Linked DNA regions of Homo sapiens: region 1 is linked to region 2. The links are contacts of gene promoters, found by promoter capture Hi-C in blood cells and fetal thymus (Javierre and others, 2016). All regions are on one chromosome and are shown on one strand. Each heading gives the region's core, a stretch centred on a gene start or on the middle of the fragment in contact. The rest is flanking DNA. Distances are from core to core; before and after follow the strand shown.

Region 1 (3,716 bases), core at 348-2,847, 140 kb after region 2:
GTCCCACAGGTTTCATTCTCTTTGGTCTCGTCTTTTCCATGGCAACCACCTTTTTAAAGGCTTCCTTTATCTTTTGCTCTGATTTGCAATTGCCTCCTAAATTGTCTCTTTAACCTTCCTTTCCACTCTCCATTCTGACCAAATCGTGTAATAATAGTCACATTTTCCTCATATGCTTACTTCCTGCATATTAGGGTTATGTTGTAAGTGCTATGCACATAGCAACATTTAATCCTCATGGCCACTACTCATTCTCAATTGGAAGTCCTGGCCAGGCACTCAGTGGGGTCCACCAATGAGAAGACAGGAAGGTGGGTCTGGGGCTCAGGAGGGAGGAGAGTGGAGGACTCTGAGTCAATATCCACACACAAAAAAGAATGACATCCACAAGATCTGTTAGTGTTGCTAAGGTAGAGAAGGCGAGGCTGTTTCATCCCCACTAAGTGCCATGAGCAAAAGGCCCAGTGTTTACAAAAGCCTTTGAAACCATTTTGAAAATGCTCCAGAATATGAAGGAAAATAACTCAACAGAAGAAAATTACAATGGACAAATCTTTAAATGCCTACATACTTGCCTTATGCCAATCAAATGCAATTAGATCTGATTCCTGTATGTCTGTAAATGAAGTACATTGAAAGTGGGAAAGTGATGCATTTCATTATATCTGGAATGATGTGGGCTCTGGAAGTACAAGTGCGTAGAGGAATAAAGGCCTTAAAATGGCCCAGAGAAGAAATGAAAAGAGAAGAGGCGTTATACTGAGGAGAGCTGCAGGCAGAGAAAGAACTGCACATCCAAAACGCCCTCCACGCAGTGACTCCACTAATCTTATAAGAACTTTAGAACTAGTGTTACACTCACTTTTCTTTTTTCTTTCTTTTTTTTTTTTTTTTTTTTTTTTTGAGATGGAGTTTCACTCTTGTTGCCCAGGCTGGAGAGCAATGGCACAATCTCGGCTCACTGCAACCTCCGCCTCCTGGGTTCAAACAATTCTCCTGCCTCAGCCTCCCAAGTAGCTGGGATCACAGGCGTGTGCCACCATGCCCGGCTAATTCTGTATTTTTAGTAGAGATGGAGTTTCACCATGTTTGTCAGGCTGGTCTTGAACTCCTGACCTCAAGTGATCCACCCGCCTCAGCCTCCCAAAGTGCTGGGATTATAGGCATGAGCCACTGCGCCCGGCCCTACACCCACTTTTTAGATGAAAAAAGGGAAGTTCAGAGTCAGTCACTTGCCCAGGCTCACACTGTGTGGCTTCTGTGGCATGGGGTGACTCCAAAGCAAAAGAGAAGGTGTGCCTCCTAGTGTCCATCCCTGTGAACAGCAGGCTTCCACTTTGGTGTTCAGTTTTACTGGAACACACTTTGTTTATGGGCTTGAGTGAATAAGGTCACATAGCTAAAAAATTTTATAGGGCTTGCAAATCAAGGGGGATGGGCAAACAGTTTAGCAGATAATTCTGGGAAAACTTGTTTGCTATGTGTGTAGCTATAAAACTGGATCCCTACCTAACACTGGATGACAAAGACAGACTTGAAACATATTGAAGACCTAAATGTATGTGGTACAGCCGTAAAATTTATATGGTACATATAGGAAAATACCTCTGTGACCTAGAGGTGGGTGAGGGTTTCTTAAACCATGGTCTCAAGCACAAACCAAAAGGCAAAGCACTGATGTGCCAGTTGCCCCAGAAGTTCTGATTCACGAAGACCATCATGGAAAAAGTTTAATAGAGAGATGACCATGTGGGAAGGGACTGTTCTGTGTCTGAAACTGATAAGGAATTTAGACCCAGGTGACTTCAAGGAACTCTGGCGAATCAACAAGAAGACAGGAACCACAAAAGAAAATGGGCAAAGGACATTGAACTGCTTATTCACCAAAGATAAAACCCAAAAGTCAACCAGGATAGGAGAGCTGTACAAACTTGCGAGTCATTAAGAAAGGCAAATTAAAATAATGAGAGATTGCTTTACAGCCATCAGATTTGCACACATCAGAAAGCTGGTTAATGCCAAATGATGAGCTAGGCGAGGGGACCGTCAGGCCCTGCTGGTTGGAGAGGAGACTGTTTGCTGCTCAGTGTTTAGACCTCAAGCACTGTGTAGCCCATGACCCAGCAATACGGCTCTTGGCTCTCAACCCCAGAGAAATTCTGTGTATCCCCAAGGTAACGTGCACGAAGACACCCGTTATGGCACCGTGTGCAGTGTGGGGAAATTGAACTCCATCCTGATGACCCTCACTGGGGAATAGATGAGTAGGCTGCGGCAGATGCAAGATGATGGAGCGGTACTTGGGGAGTACTCATGACATGGGTAGAGGCGAGTGGAAAGAAAAAGAGACCGAGCCCCCTATAACCGCTTCTGTGTACTAAAAATGTATGCCCATGAAACCATGGTACATGTTTTACGAGCAGAATAGCACACATGCACCGCATGAGAGGGGCCGTCTATGGAGAGGGAAATAGGAAGTGAATGGAAATAAAGAGGTGTTGAAGAGAAAGAGCACTGACCCAGGCAGGCTTTCCTACAAGCAGTGGTTACAAGCCCAGCCCCTGCAGCAGGGTAACTTAGCCCCCAGTACCTCTGTTTTCTTAGCATAAAATAGAGATAATAATTGTGCTCACCTCCCAGAGTTGCTGTGAGGATCAAGTTAACACACACATGAAGTGCTTAGAATAGTGTGGCTGGCACAAAGGGGGTGCTAGGTGTATAAGGGTGTTCACAGTGCTTATATTAGTGAAAAATGAAAAATAATTGAAATATCCAACTGTGGGAGACAGTTTATCCAAATGATTGGAAAGATCTAATTGTTCTTCTGTCCTTCTTCCCTTTGTCTTTTTGGTAGTACAACCTCCCCCCGCCCCCCCCCCAACCTCTACACATACATAGATTTTAGCAATGTGCTTGGGCACCTAGCTATGTACTGAATTTCCCAGCCTCCATGATACTAAGTTGCTCTGTGGTTAAGCTCTGGGATAGAATGGATGTGAAAGTGTTATGTTCCGTGTAAGAAAAACACTTGCTCTCCACTTTCTCTTTCCCCTGCATCTGTGAATGACCTGACACCCACTGGAGGGCTGGAGGCCAGCCATGAGCAAGCAGATGAGTCAAGAAGCAAGCAGATGCTGAGCAACAAGTTGGAAGGAACCAGGGCCCTGATGACCCACACCCTGTAGCATCCTCCACCCCCACCTCCATCTGCTGGGTGGGAAAGAACAAACGTCTTACGTAGACTACTCTTTGAAGACACTGAATTTTGGGTCTCTGACATAGCTGCTTAGTCTGTACTCCAACTAATATAGCCATTTAAATCTTGTTTTTCAGAAAGTAGTTAATGATATGAGAAAAAAGCTTATAGTGTATACCTCAGTGGAAAAAAATTGGTATATAAAAACTAGATTTTTTTAGGGCAGCGAAACTACTCTGTGTGATACTCCAATGGGGGATCCATGTCATTACACATTTGCGCAAACGCATAGAATGTGCAGCACCAGGAGTGGCCCCTAATGTAAACTCTGGACTTTGGGTGATAGTGATGTATCAGTGTAGGTTTGTCAATTGTAACAAATAGACCACTTTGATAGGTGAAGTTGATAGTGGGGGAGGCTGTGCATGTATGTGGGCAGGGAGTATATAGAAGTCTCCGTACCTTCTGCTCAGTATTGCTGTGGTCTTAAAACTTCTCTAAAAAAGAAAGTCTATTTTAA
Region 2 (3,706 bases), core at 20-2,519:
CTCTAGTGGATGGACTATTACATTATTATAATTATTCAAATTAATATTTTCCCGCTTCTTCCCTGCTTTCCTTCAAGAGGTGGGGGAGGCCACCTGGCCCAAGCTGAAGGCCAAGATACAAGAAAAAAATGCAAAGGTTCTATTTTGGCAGCGTTTACATGGGCAGGGTGTCGTGGGGAGGCTGGCGGAGGGAGTGGGAGCAGGTGACAGAGAATATAGGGTAAGTTAGAAGGCTCTCAGTGCTGGTAAAAATAAAATAGAGTAAAGTAAAGGGTGGGGGTAGAGTTGAGGGGGGCGTGATCAGATTTCTGTTCAAATAGGATGGTCTTTTTGCTGTGAACTTAAGACTGCTCTAAGGCCAGGCGCAGTGGCTGACGCCTGTAATCCCAGCACTTTGGGAGGCCGAGGCGGGCGGATCACAAGGTCAGGAGATCGAGACCATCCTGCCTAACACGGTGAAACCCCGTCTCTACTAAAAATACAAAAAATTAGCTGGGCATGGTGGCACACGCCTGTAGTCCCAGCTACTCGGGAGGCTGAGGCAGGAGAATCGCTTGAACTTGGGAGGCAGAGGTTGCAGTGGGCTGAGATCGCGCCACTGCACTCCAGCCTGGGTGACAGAGTGAGACTCCGTCTCAAAAAAAAAAAAAAAAAAAGACTGCTCTAAAAAATAAAGTGTATTAAAAAGAAACTACGATGTTCAGTGTATGCTTCATCTACGGTCAAAGAGGCAAAGACTGAAGTGACAGTGGAAGCCAGGTGGTTATCTGGGAGGCTTACAAGACTATGTGATAGTATGGAAAATACTAGTATTAAGTGAAATGCTGGATGCAAAACTATGCATAGAGGGGAAAAACTGGAAAGAAATAGTAAACACAGCAAAAGTAGTTTGTGTGAAGGATAAATTTTTTAAAATTATTTTTTGTAGAAACAGGGTTTCTCTACATTGCCCAGGATGGTCTCAAACTCCTGGGCTCAAGCGATCAATCCTCCCACCTCGGCCTCCCAAAGTGCACAGGTGTAAGCCACCGCGCCCAGCCGAAGGATAAGGATTTTGGGTGGTGCGCTCTTTTCTCCTTTCCATTTCTGCATTTTCCAATTTACCTTTAGCGACCGTTCTTTCCTGTTAAAAAAAAAAAATTCACGACCTTGAAGAAGATACACGGGCTATGACTTCGCTGTTGTCACCGAGCGCCCCGCCCACCGCGTTCTCCGACCCGCGGCCGGCAGGGGGCTCGCGGCCTCCGCCAGGCGTCCTTCGGCTCCGTCAGTTCCCACAGGGCCTTGTGCGACATGGGCTGCGCCGAGGGCAAGGCAGTGGCGGCGGCCGCCCCAACGGAGCTGCAGACGAAAGGCAAGAACGGCGATGGCCGCCGTAGGTCAGGTACGACCGAGGGCGAAGGCCTGGTCCCCAGGTCGACGGGCCGAAGCGGGCCTTCCGGCCGGGGTTGGGGATAAAGTGCCCCGGAGCCCTGGCCTTGAAGCCCCTCACTGGAGTCAGTGACTGACCGCGCGCCACGCTGGAGACCCCAGAAACGCTCCCCCAGGTCACCCCGGGAGACGGAGGCCGGCGGCCGGCCGAGGGCTGCCCCGCCCGCTGGCTGTGAGAGAGGTGGGAGGTGGAAGGAGGAGCGGGCCCGCCGCGAGGACCTGCCCGGAAACCTGTCGGAAACCGAACCGAGATCTCGGCAGCGACCCGCCTGATTTCGCTCAGGGCCCGTTAGGGCGTCCTCTTCCTACAAGCACCGTGTTTCCAATGAAAGGTTACGGGGGAAGCGACCAAACCGACAGCCGAGTCCGGGGGTGCCCCTTCACCTCTCCAGAAGCCCCCGGCCCACTCCCAGCATCCTCCTCCATCGAGAATCTTGTCCGACACGCCTTCCCGGCCCCCTTTCTCCATCCCCTTGAATTTTGGGCACATTTCTCCCACCATCATCCCGCTTTATCCTTTCACTTGTTCTTCCAGAAGAGAAAGCTCCCAGTCTCTTCTCCATTGTCCGGATAATGCCAATAATGGCTAGTGGTTACTAAGCACTGACATGAGAGGGGCCTTTGGAAGCACTAGACATGGGTAATAATCTTGGTTCATGTTTCCAGCCATACTGAGAGATTTATCATAAACCCCATTATACAGATGAAGAAACTGAGAAGCAAAGAGGTTATAAAACTTACCCAAAGCACACAACTAGTAAGTGGAAGAGCTGGGATACCAGTTGAGGCCATCTGACTCAAAAGCCCTGGTCATAGTCATATGGCCGCCTCCACCTTTTTTATAGGCTTGAGAAAGTGAGGCTCCAAAAAGTGCCTTGCCCAATGGCTAGAATTATTAAATGCTGTAGGATCTGCCTCTTTCAAAGGCTTACAGTTTAGTTACAAGGCAGCATATGGTGAAGGGCTAAAAGGAGTGGTAAAAACAGCCAAGTGGGGATGGCAGCTCCCATAGATGAGGTAGGATTTGGTAGAGGTGTCTGAAGGGAGAACATTCTTGTTAGGGGAAGCAGCCGGTGAGACCATGCTAGAGATAGGGAGGCCTGTATATCCTGCTGGAGTTAAGGACTTGGATTAGGGGAAGGGAAGAATAAAGGAACAGGGTAGGAGCAAGGTCAGGCAAGGTCCAGGTCAGGCAGCTAATTTGTGGCCATTAGTACAATGAAGGAGTTTGAGCAGGTGCATCCCAAATTGACGTTTCATGTGCCATCCTCAGGATCTTCTTGATATCTATGTCCTTCCATTTATTTACTGTTTTTCTTTAGCTACATTCTTTTTGTGTGTGGTTAAAAAAAAAAAATTTACCATCTTAACAATTTTGTTTTTTTTTTTTTTTTAGTTTCGCTCTCGTTGCCCAGGCTGGGGTGCAATGGCGCCATCTTGGCTCACCTCAGCCTCCACCTCCCAGGTTGAAGCGATTCTCCTGCCTCAGCCTCCCAAGTAGCTGGGATTACAGGCATGCACCACCACGCCTGGCTAATTTTGTATTTTTAATAGAGACAGGTTTTCACCATGTTGGTCAGGCTGGTCTTGAACTCCTGACCTCAGGTGATCTGCCCACCTCAGCTCCCCAAAGTGCTGGGATTACAGGCATGAGCCACTGCACCCAGCTGACCCTAACCGTTTTTAAGTATACAGTTTTCAGCAGTATTAAGTATATTCACATTGTTGTGAAGCAGATCCCCTGAACTTTTTCATCTTGCAAATCTGAAACTCCATGCCAACTCGTTAACTTTTCATTTGCCGTTTCCCCCAGCCCCTGGTATCCATCATTCTACTTTCTGTTTCTGTGAAATTTGGCTACTTTAGATTGCTTATATAAGTTGGTATCATACAGTGTCTGTCTTTTTGTGACTGGCTTGTTTCACTTAGCATACTTGTCTTCGAGTTTCATCTGTATTGTAGCATGCGACAGGATTTCCTTACTTTTTAAGGCTGAATAATATTCCATTGTGTGTGTGTATATGTACATACACACACACATATATACACACACACACACACAAAATGGAATATATATACACACACACACCACATTTTTTTTTTCCCGAGATGGAGTCTTGCTCTATCGCCAGGCTGGAGTGCCGTGGCATGATCTTGGCTCACCACAATCTCCGCCTCCTGGGTTCAAGCAATTCTCCTCCCTCAGTCTCCCAAATAGCTGGGATTACAGGCCCGCCACCATGCCCAGCTAATCTTTGTATTTTTAGTAGTGACG

What was found. Contacts are between HindIII fragments. The CHiCAGO score rates a contact against its expected background, and 5 or more counts as called.
Region 1: a fragment that was not itself captured here is called in contact with the fragment with the promoter of TXNRD1 in region 2 in 17 of 17 cell types (naive CD8 T cells, naive CD4 T cells, activated CD4 T cells and 14 more); the score reaches 14.9 in naive CD8 T cells.

What each region holds. Positions count from the first base shown.
Region 1 is chr12:104,357,265-104,360,980 of GRCh38, forward strand. No RefSeq gene overlaps it. Among named protein-coding and RNA genes, the nearest start is that of EID3, 55 kb to the left of the region's middle. RefSeq lists an enhancer at 167-461. The HindIII fragment of the contact is 3,521 bases long and covers 1-3,358 here.
Region 2 is chr12:104,214,510-104,218,215 of GRCh38, forward strand. It overlaps TXNRD1 (thioredoxin reductase 1), which reads left to right and starts at 1,270. Exons shown (of 17, transcript NM_001093771.3): 1 at 1,270-1,384. The coding sequence starts at 1,294. RefSeq lists enhancers at 1,046-1,662, 1,663-2,278 and a silencer at 1,133-1,222. The HindIII fragment of the contact is 5,942 bases long and covers 1-3,706 here.